Linked DNA regions of Homo sapiens: region 1 is linked to region 2. The links are contacts of gene promoters, found by promoter capture Hi-C in blood cells and fetal thymus (Javierre and others, 2016). All regions are on one chromosome and are shown on one strand. Each heading gives the region's core, a stretch centred on a gene start or on the middle of the fragment in contact. The rest is flanking DNA. Distances are from core to core; before and after follow the strand shown.

Region 1 (5,520 bases), core at 233-2,732, 3.1 Mb before region 2:
AGTTAATTGCACCCGCAGCTTCAGGCTCCTCTGTAGAATTAAGGGGTTGGCTAAAATCCACCAAGACTCTCTATCCTTCCTTGATTTCATCCCTAGAAGGGTCGAAACTGGAGTACACATTTTCTGGGTGGCCTGCCAGTAGCCAGCTGAAAGACCGAGTCTTGTTGCAGAGCTGTTAGTGTGCGGGGCATTTGTGTGTGCGTGTGTGCGCTCGCGGGAGTCGGGGTGGGGGGGTGGGGGATGAGTATGCTCATTTCGCTGTCTTTTTGTCAGGACGCTCTAAAGTTTATAGTTTGCGGGCCCTTTAAGGAGGTACTTAGAAATATACCAGCTGTTGGTCCTACCTGGCCCTTGATTAAAGATCCATATTTACTCCAGAGAATAAGAATTAAATAACATTTGGCTTTTCTTTGGGTAGGTTTCTGGGAAGGGAGTTGACATTTTCTTAAGGAAATCCAGACATTTTGGATTTGTTATTAATACTTTTTGAATTCATCATTTCACTGGAGCTGCTATTGAGTTGAATAAAGCATATTTAAAATTTGCAGTTCCAGAAACTGCAAATTTTGTTGAGGAAGAGCTCAGCATAGCGTAGCAGCACCTTATTAACGTATATCTTAACTCACCTAACTGTAGTTTTGGCTACTGGGAAGAAAAATTGTCTTCACTGGAATTTTATTAGATAAACAGTGATGTGCAAACCCAGGCTTCTTTGGAAGGTGACTGACCTTTTACTGCTGATCTTGAAAGAGTTAGGAGAATATTGTCATTGTTTAGTTATGTATTTTGCATAAGGCTTCTTCCAGTCTATCATAATATTGCTTTGGTTTTGTTTTTTATTCTCCTCTCTTCCTCCCTTTTCTTTCGTCTTTTTCTTTTTCCAGTGGAAAGGAACATTGTATTTCCTAACATGAGCTACTGGATACCAGATGTAATTAACGTTAGAATTTTTTTTTTCAAATTTCTACTTAAAACACAGAATATTTCCACTTTTTCTTCTTCCCTACTCTGTTTTTATCATCACAAATAATACTTAAATTTTTTTGCATCTAGATGTAAGGTGTGTTTATGAAATATTTTACCCCCTTTCCAAAACATACGTGTTTCCTTCCCCAAGAATTTATAGAGGAAACAGGAGATTCAGAGAAGTTGCTATTTAATGGTTATAACAGTACTAATAATAACCATTTATTGAATATATTTTACATGCCCAAATACTGGCTACACAGGACTTCATTTGATCCTTAACAGCAACTTTAAGAAGTAAATTTTATTTCTGCCTACTATACAAACGGGAAATCTGAGGCTCGTGACACTCCAGCTTATATGAACTATCCCACATTTTAGCTAGATTTTTAGAAGGCTATTTAAAACTTATAATTGTAGAAGCTTAAAAGCAGTAATAGTGAAATACAGCAAGCAGAGTTGATTTTTCTTTTTTTAAGTAAAAACAAAAGTATCTTAAATGTTGAAAACACATCTGTATGTGTGTGCATTCTCATTTATTAGCAAACAATAAGGGAATGGCTGCCAAGGGCAGTGAGCTGCATTTTATTAACATAAAAGCTAAGCTTTTGGAATTGCAGATGTTGAAGTCTCTGGCTTAATATAAAACAACTTCTTGTTTTCTTGTGACTATTTGAATGTTTGCATGTGCTTCTGTAGTATTCATGTTGGGTCATGACTGAAGGAATAGAAGAGGTTTGTGATCATTTATACAGTGTCAAAGTAGGGATGGTGTCATGTTGAGCGATCTCCTTATACCCCTGTGTTATAGGCTAGAGGCCAAATATTGTAGCCAACTAAGTGGAGAATCAACCTAAAAGGAGTCTTTCTCCTTTTTTGCCTTCCCCTCTCCTAATGCCCAGAAGTACAGTCTTAAATCCCTGGTTAATTTTGAAGCCTCACCCCAAATTTCTTGGTAAGAAACTTAAATTATATCCCACTTAGTTTACTTCCTAGTGGAAAAAGACCATTGAGAAGCAACAGATACTTCTTTCTTTTATCCTAGTGCCCTATGTAAATGTAGAAAGATCTGTTTTCTCCCACTACTTTCCTATGTAGAGTCTGAAGTCTGAGCTTTCGTATGTAATGTTCACTCCTCAGTAAAAGGATATACCAGGGGTTATCCTAGAGCACTCAACTGGAGACAGTTTTGTCCCCTAACTGACATTTGACAACGTCGGAAGACATTTTTGATTGTCACAACCAGGGGTGGGATGCTACTGGCATCTAGTAGGTAGAGGGTAAACATCCTATAATGCACAGGACAGCCCCCTATGACGAAGAATTATCTGCTCCATTTGTCAATTGATGCCCAAGTTGAGGAATCATACTCCAGAGAAGTGAGTGCTATCCTAACAAAACTCAGATTTCACCTAGGCTCCCTGGATTTCCTTTTGTCTTCAGTTTTCTTCAGGTTAGAGATCCCAGAGAGTCCTCTGGGCAGCTAGTCTCCTCTTCCTAAACACTTTGGCAATGCTTGACTTCATTGTGTCAAAGTAATAGTAACTCCAGCCATTTGTATGGCACTGTCTCTTTATCCTTGCAGGTAACAATGAAAATGAAGGCTGAAGATACTTTTGTGGAGTGGGTTTGCAGCCACAGAACAGACAAACTGAGATTTATAGTTTTGATTTAATGTACAGGGGACTGTCTGTTTGAGGGGCTCCTGTCCTCAACTTGATTTGTTCAAAGTTTTGACAATGACTTATTTGAAGGTAAAGCATGGTACTCCAAGCTGGTAGCAGCCACTTGGGTCTGTGCCTTCCTTGACCTATAAGATGGAAGTTAAGCTTCTCTCTTTCAACAGAAGTATGTCCCAGAAAAGTTTGAGAAGCACTAATATAGTGCACAGAGCACTTGCATTGACATGTTGTGCAGTCACCAGCCTAGGTGGTACTGGCCAGTCATTTAACTTTTTTGAGCCATAGTTTCCTCTTCTGTAAAATCAGAATAACTAGTAATTGGTGTAGACATAAGCACTGAAAACAGAGGAAAAGAATCTAGTTCAAAGGAACAGGCCCAAGAGAGATAGTAGGACAGCTAATTCTTGTAATCTAATGAGTTTGAGTAAAATGCACTTGGGAGAATTATTGTGGAAGAGATTGGAAAGGTAGGTAGGGGCTAGGTCATATTCCAAGCTCAAAGGAATTTGGACCTAGTCCATGGTTTACTAGTAGAATACTAAAAGAAGGCCAGATTTAGCTGACTTTTCTTGAGGCCTGCAATAAGCCATACTTTGGGCTTTGGGCATTTGGAGGTAGATAGGAACTAGTTAGAGACTGTTAAAACAGGCCATGGGAGAGATGAGGACCAGGACTCAAGCAGTGGGGAAGTTATGCTGAGCTTGTTTTACTAGCTAACATTTGCATAGCCTTCTGCAAGCCACAAAAATTGAATTAAACTTCTTAATGACATTATTAATTTTATCTTCACAACAACAAAGGAGGTTAAGTACTACAGCCTCTGTTTTTCAGATAAAGACTTGGAGAGGCTAAATAATTTGCCAAAGATTGTCCAGCTAGAATTTTTTTTTTTTTTTTTTTTTAAAGATGGTGTCTCGCTCTGTCGCCCAGGCTGGAGTGCAGTGGCACAATCTCAGCTCACTGCAAGCTCTGCCTCCCAGGTTCATGCCATTCTCCTGCCTCAGCCTCCCAAGTAGCTGGGACTACAGGTGCCGCCACCACGCCCAGCTAATTTTTTGTATTTTTAGTAGAGACGGGGTTTCACCATGAGAATAATCTTAGAGTCACTGAGATTGACATAATGGTCAGAGAATCATCTCAGGTCTGTCTAATTCTCTATATAAGGCGGTATAGCAGATGTAACAAGTATACTCTTAACTACAGTGTTAAAAATGAATGGAAGGACTCAGAGTAGTTGCTTGGAGGATGGTTTGGAGGGGAGCAAAGTAAATACAGGGAGACCAGTTAGGAGGCCCTTTTTCAGGTGAGAGCTTATATCTTTTGAATTAGGGTTATGGTTGTAGAGAAGATAGATGTAGAAGGAAGTGAAAGAATTTTTAGGGATATGTCAAAAATAACTCCTCTGTAGCTTTCACAATTGGGGTTTTGTTGCTGGTGAAGGGGAGTGGTGGTTAAGTTGGAGGACAGATTATGAATGCCATTTTAGACTTGCTATGTTAGAGATGCCTTTGATATGTCCAAGGTTAGCTGTCAAAGAGTCAGTTGAATATATGAGTCTGAAGGTCTGAAGAAACATCTGAACTGAAAATACAAATCTGCGAGTCATCGGTGTTGTGATGTTAATTGAAACTGGTTGTGGACAGAATTGGTTAGGGAGAGAATATAACATGAAAGGGGAATATCAGGGCCTAGAACCAAGGATAATGAAGACTGAAAACAATCATTTAACAAGAATAGTAGCAACCAACCTTTATTAAATGCTTACTCTGTGTTAAGCACTGTACTAAGTTTGTTTTACCTTTTCTCTTTCAGTCTTCTTAAGAACCTTACAGGGAGCTAGATCATTGTCCCTTTTTACCAATGAGGTAATTGTAGCTCAGAAAGTTTAGGTGACTAGCCTAAATTATTCATATACCCAATAAATTGAGGAGTTGGCATTTGAACTCAGGCAACCTATGATTAGGAGGTGAGGAAATGGAGACTGTGAGTAAAGACAAGTTTTGTGAGAAATTGGGCTTTTAAGGAAGTTGGCTGGGGTGTTAGGTGTATTATGTTTCCTAAGAGAAGGTTCTGTGCTTTCTTTTTGGTATATTTGTTTTTAAGATATGAGACACTACAGCATGTTTAATTGTTTATAGAGCTATATTTGAAAGACAATAGTTGATAGTAAAAGGTTTCTGTAAAGGTGGGAAGAGAATAGGACAGGTAGAGGTACGTTTATTTATATGTTTAGAAAATAGTTATTGAGGCCTGGCGTGGTGGCTCATGCCTGTAATCCCAGTACTTTGGGAGGCCGAGGCGGGTGGATCATGAGGTCGGGAGATTGAGACCATTCTGGCTAACACAGTGAAACCCCATCTTTACTGAAAATACAAAAAATTAGCTGGGCGTGGTGGCGGGTGTCTGTAGTCCCACCTGCTCGGGAGGTTGAGGCAGGAGAATGGCTTGAACTTGGGAGGTGGAGCTTGCAGTGAGCCGAGATCACACCACTGCACTCCAGCCTGGGTGACAGAGCAAGACTCCATCTCAAAAAAAAAAAAAAAGAAAATAGTTATTGAATGCCTACTGTATTGGTCAGGGTTCTCCAGAGAAAGAGAACCAATAGAGATTTATTATAAGGAATTGGCTCGTGTGATTAAGGAGGCTGAGAAGTCCCTTGATCTGTCAGCTGGAAACCTGCAAGCTGGAAACCCAGGAAAGCAAGTGATGTGATTCAGTCCAAGTCCAAAGGCCTGAGAACCAGGAGAGCTGGTGGTGGTAGTCTCAGTTGGAGGGCAGGAGAAGACTGATGTTTCAGCTCAGCAGTAAGGCAGAAGAAGGGGCAGTCTTTCTTCTCCCTCCTTTTGTTCTATTCACACTCTCAAAACATTGA
Region 2 (5,753 bases), core at 411-2,910:
AAGCCACCCAGTCTACAGCACTGTTACAGGAGCCTGAATGGACCAAGAAAAATCTCCGATAGAAGTGTTACAGAAATAATGTTAAGAGAGATAATGCCGGGAGTACCTGCCTCTTCTCTTCTCCCTACTCCAGGCAAATTGTCTGGTAATGTTGTGATGCTCGGAGAACGCCAGCCCAGGTGCCTGTGAAGCAGTCCCCTCTGCTCACTGCACTGTTCCTGATTTTGTTCCATAACTTTGTGCCTCTAGGAAAAGAGGAGAGCCTCCCGAAATCTGATGAGACTCGCTGTATCACGCCAGTCTGTGGCTTAGGTGATACAGAAAGGAAATGCGAAGATCAGGCCTCACTGCCAGCTTTGCTCAGTTACACAGAAAACATGCTGTTTCAGCTTTTGGGAGTTTCTTAGTACACGATCGGTTTCTTTTTCTCTTTTATGAAAGTTTTTCCCCTTAGATTTGCTTTCAAAACAACAGACTTTCACTTCTGGCTAAGACAGAATGAGTGACCTAGTACAATCTTTGACACTGTTATTATATATCTTTATTCATAATCAATGCATGATTTTGATTATTCTGACTTTAATTTTACGAGTAAAAATGGGTTGGTTATAAATCCCTTTCAAAGAATTTTTTTTTTTTCTTTTTGAGACGGAGTTTTGCTTTTTCTGCCCAGGCTGGAGTACAATGGTGCGGTCTTGGCTCACTGCAACCTCTGCCTCCTGGGTTCAAGTGATTTTCCTACCTCAGCCTCCCAAGCAGCTGGGATTACAGGCATGCGCCACCACACCCAGCTAATTTTTTGTATTTTTAGTAGAGATGGGGTTTCACCATGTTGGTCAGCTGGTCTCGAACTCCAGACCTCAGGTGATCCACTGGCCTCGGCCTCCCAAAGTGCTGGGATTACAGGAGTGAGCCACCGCGCCCGGCCCCTTTCATTGCTTTTTAAGGAAAACATGCTATCATATATACTTCACCTCCAGGGCAGTACATTCTTACTTTAAGGCAAAGACAGTTGCTGAGGCCTGGACTAGGGGAAAATTTGGGCTCCAGATGGGACTGTTGGATAAAATACCAGACGTCCTGTAAATGTGAATTTTAGATAAACAACGAATAACTTTTTAGTATAAAAGTAAATACTGCAATGGAATTTATTATTTGCTAAATGTGCAACCCTAGGTTAAGAGAGCTTTTCAGACCCACTTCTCAGCCCGAGTTTTCTATTTAAAATCAGAATAAGAACGCCTGCTTCATGGAGCTGTTAAATCCAAATGGAAATTAATTTGAAAGCGCGAAATCAAACTTTTCAAAAGAATGACGGTTACAATAAGAGCGTTTTGGCCTCTGCTAGCTGCTTCCGGGCGGAGGTCCTCGGCCTCCCCTAGGCGAGGCACTAGGTCTGGGGGCGGCGGGTCTTAGCGTGCCCGCCACGCTCGCCGCCTCCCACCTGCCCTGGCTGGCTGGGGCCCGACCCTTGCGTCGCTCCGGGGCCCAAGTTACGGACTCGGGAATCCAGTTGTCCGCACCGAACAAGCCCCGCCGCAGCGCCCGCCCCTCCTCTTGCTGCTTTGGAGTCTCCCGGCTTCCGCCTTCCGCAGCAGTCACGTGCCTCCGATCACGTGACCGGCGCCTCTGTCATTCTACTGCGGCCGCCCTGGCTTCCTTCTACCTGTGCGGCCCTCAACGTCTCCTTGGTGCGGGACCCGCTTCACTTTCGGCTCCCGGAGTCTCCCTCCACTGCTCAGACCTCTGGACCTGACAGGAGACGCCTACTTGGCTCTGACGCGGCGCCCCAGCCCGGCTGTGTCCCCGGCGCCCCGGACCACCCTCCCTGCCGGCTTTGGGTGCGTTGTGGGGTCCCGAGGATTCGCGAGGTAAGGCCGCCCTCGCGTTGTTTGGTCTCAGGCTGCAGACCAGGTCAGGCGACTCTTGCAGTTTCTCCAGCTTGCCTGGTGCGTGCTGGTGTCTCGCCGCTTGGTCCTCTCCTGTTCTTCGGCCCCCGGTTGCCAGATTGCTTTTCTTCCAGGCCTCAACCAGGTTTATTAAGCGAAATTCTGGAGCCTTTCTCGCAGGGGGAAGAAACGTCAGGGGCGGGCAGGAGAGTGGAGGGGGAGGGGTAAAAAGTATACCTTCTCCAGGACTGGGCCACGGCCCTGGATCGCTGGGGGTGCGAGTAGTTCAGGGACTTAGGTAATTGTCTAGAGACACCTTGAGCTACGCCAGGACGGGCCGCTGAGGCTGAGCCTCCTTGGCTGCAGAGTTCCAGCCTGGCCCAGTTGAAGCCTGTTTTTTCCTGGGCCCTGTCGTTCGCGCTGCCCAGGGTTGTTTATACAGCAAATCTTCAGATACAGAGATTAAGTTCCAAATTGATTAAGATCGTTGGAAACCCGGAATATAATTTTGGGTAGGATTTTAACTTCTTTGTGGCCATGGCCGTGAATTTATGTTTTGCAAGTGGCAACCTGTATTTTGCTTTGTGTTAAAATCAGTCGTTTGTATCTGGAAGTTTAGGAGTGAGAATTACATAGAATTTCATTATTGTAGGTTCTTGTCGTCCAGCCAGACCGCCATTGTTGGCTTACCTAAATTGTAATATGTATTTGTTCTAAAACTTTCTCTCCGAATTTTGATTTTGCAAATACTATGAATTTTGTTTGAAAAGGAAAGCACTGTCTTCTAAGAAATTATGTTCCCACTTTGTGTATTTTAATTTGAGTAATTTTCGAAAGGACTTAGAATTTTTAATGTGCCACTTCAAAATGATGCTTAGTAAATGTTTATAAAACTAGCCTTATCCGTACTATTCATATTCTTATTGTTTCTCTATGAGAAAAGTTAACCACAATTGTATAAATTTACAATTTTTCCCATATTTATACCTATTCTATTTAATCATGATTTCTGATTTCAGTATATTAGGTGATTGCTTTAAAAATCTTACTGCAGTGTTAGTGCCAATAATGAAAAAAATTTTTCTAGAAAAGCAAAAGCCTAAAGAACTCTTTTATGGAGCAGTGGACAATATTTGAAATATAATGATACTTTCAGACTTAGGACATTTAATATTTGAGTTGAATGCCTGGGGAGATTAAAGTGATCACGATATTCATAATCATAATATTAATAGTTGTAAAAAAAAGAAACACCTCGTATTCTGTTTTTACCTTGCATCAAAATTGAAGATTTGTTGAAAGACATTCAAGATTACGAAGTTTAGATGACCAAAATGGATATCCGAGGTGCTGTGGATGCTGCTGTCCCCACCAATATTATTGCTGCCAAGGCTGCAGAAGTTCGTGCAAACAAAGTCAACTGGCAATCCTATCTTCAGTAAGTACCAATTTGCTGTGAATCATGGACAGTCATATGCTTTTGCATCAGACTTTTTCATGGTCATGCTTCTATGAGAGAAATACAGGGAAAATACTGAAAAATGTGGAAGAAACACTTCCTCTTCAGAATAATTAGCTGTCTTAGGGAGTTAAGTGTAGTGGGGTGGAAACAGCTTGGCGCCCTAGTGGGGAAGCAGAGCGGCTTATGGTGCTTTTGACCTTCTCTGGCTGCCTGGGGAAGTACTTTTGGAATAAGTGGGAAACATAGGAGGAATGTCCTTGGGCTAACGGAGGGAGGAAGGGGATGAGGGGCAAAACCTGCTAGACTGGTCTGATATGCCCTGGCAATCAGCATGGGGGCAGGTGGCCTTTTTAGAGTGGTGCATACAACTAATAAGAAGCACAGATATTTGAGTTGAGAGACTTGGATTTGAGTTTTGGTTCTTGCTATTAGTTTGGTGATCTTAAGCAAATCACTTAACTTCTCTGAGGCTCAATAAAGTAAAATGTGAAATGGGGAGACATACCCCACAGGCTTGTTGCTGAAATAATGTATTTATTAGCACAGTAGAATACAAGCATTAGTATGTTGAATACAATACATTTTAGTTCCCCCTTCTTTCTTGTATGTATTAATATTTAATGTGCTGATGTTTCAGTATTTTGTATTTATCTATAAAGTGAGCATTCATGTATTCTTGACCATATTTTATTGACTTCATATTTATTTTGGTATATTTATAACTGAGTTACCAAGGAATTCAGTTCAGATTTGCATATGCATTTTGAAAAACAAATTGAGGAATCTAGTTTTATATTAGTGTTAATTTTATATTAGTATTAATAGTTTGTGTTGTTGTAGGAGGGATCTATAATGTACAAAAATGATCCTTTAATTTCTGTTAATTTAATCACTCATCAAACATTTATTGATTACCTGCCAAGTTTGAGGCATTTTTCCAGGCTTTGAGGCTACAAAAATTCCATACAGAGTACTGTCCCTGAAGGAACTAAAACTCTAGTAGGGAAGTCAGATGTATTAATAGATCATTTTAATTCACTATTTTTTTTTTTTTTTGAGACAGAGTCTCACTCTGTTGCCCAGGCTGGAGTACAGTGGGGCAGTCTTGGCTCACTGCATCCTCCGCCTCCCGGGTTCAAGCAGTTCTCCTTCCTCAGCCTCCCGAGTAGCTGGGATTACAGGCACCTGACACCTTGCCCGCCTAATTTTTTTGTATTTTTAGTAGAGACAGGGTTTCAACATGTTGGCCAGGCTGGTCTCGAACTCCTGACCTCGTGATCTGCCCCTCTTGGCCTCCCAAAGTGCTGGGATTACAGGCGTGAGCCACCGTGCCCGGCTCTAATTCAGTATGTTAACTGTGGCAATAGAAAGATGCACAGGGTCTGGCAGGTGCACATAAAAAAGACAAGTAATTCTACCCCTTGGAAATTTTCCTGAAGGGGCTGGTCCCTGAACTGAGTTTTTGAGGATGATGGGTATTTAGCCATGTGGCAAGTAGGAGCAGCCTTGGGAATAGAACAGATAATGTGAGCAAAGGCAGGGAAGCAAAAACAGCACACTGGGTGGGAGTCATACATGTTTTGGAGGCAGGCAATGCAGAGAGCTGAGGCTAGAGAGGCAGCCAGGGGCCGATCGTGAAGATGCTGTGTGTGGGTGTGTGGTTGGAAGGAGTTTGGACTTGATCCTATCAGTCAGTGCTTTTCAAGCTGATTTTTAAGCTGTGAAGCCCATGATTGATATGAAGTTAGCATGTAAAACAGATGAAAATGATAGAATGGAGGTGGGAGTGTGTGTCCCAGAGCCCTCTTTTTGAGACCATTCACCATTTTCCAAGGAGCTGTAGGTGTTGGAAACCAATGAATCTTGTAGCCGGGAGTTAGAAGACCATATCTGCCTCTTGATTGAATTGTTCTACTAGCAGCATGAAGGGTGAGTTTGTAGGTGATAAGTCTAGAGGTAGAGAGAAGCTATAGCAGTAACCAAGGTATTGGAATAGATAGAATTGGTTAGATTGAGAGAGTCTTAGTGATTGATTTGGTGTGTGGGGGTGAAAGAGAAGTCTTGGATGACTTCTGGATTCCTACTTTAAGGAACTGGGTTATTGTGGGGCCACTGACTGAAGGACAGGAGGAGGGGAGACTTGCTGATGTTTTCTCTGTTCATCAGTGTTTGTGTAATTGTTTAAATTCCCTGTGAAATTAGGATTCTGAGCTCTGTTTCCTAATTTCTTTAGTCCAGAGTGCATTTAGACTAGAGGACAGGGAGTTTTATGTTTATAAAGCCTGGATCTGTTTATAGCCTACATAGAATAATATTGTTGATCATAAAGCACTGGTGGACTGGCCAGAGCTCCGCCTAACGTTGGCATTTGGAATGTTTGTAGTTACATGGAGCTTTTAAAA

Evidence for each region. The method cuts DNA at HindIII sites, captures the fragments that hold promoters and counts their contacts. A CHiCAGO score of 5 or more calls a contact.
Region 1: a fragment that was not itself captured here is called in contact with the fragment with the promoter of ATP6V1H in region 2 in 2 of 17 cell types (total B cells and non-activated CD4 T cells); the score reaches 7.0 in total B cells.

The regions. Positions count from the first base shown.
Region 1 is chr8:56,987,403-56,992,922 of GRCh38, reverse strand. The region is part of intron 1 of BPNT2 (3'(2'), 5'-bisphosphate nucleotidase 2); the gene reads left to right. Among named protein-coding and RNA genes, the nearest start is that of BPNT2, 3.7 kb to the left of the region's middle. The HindIII fragment of the contact is 182 bases long and covers 1,392-1,573 here.
Region 2 is chr8:53,839,152-53,844,904 of GRCh38, reverse strand. ATP6V1H (ATPase H+ transporting V1 subunit H) reads left to right here and starts at 1,660. Exons shown (of 14, transcript NM_015941.4): 1 at 1,660-1,871; 2 at 3,180-3,327. The coding sequence starts at 3,215. RefSeq lists enhancers at 225-274, 1,572-1,711 and a silencer at 1,352-1,501. The HindIII fragment of the contact is 7,596 bases long and covers 1-5,753 here.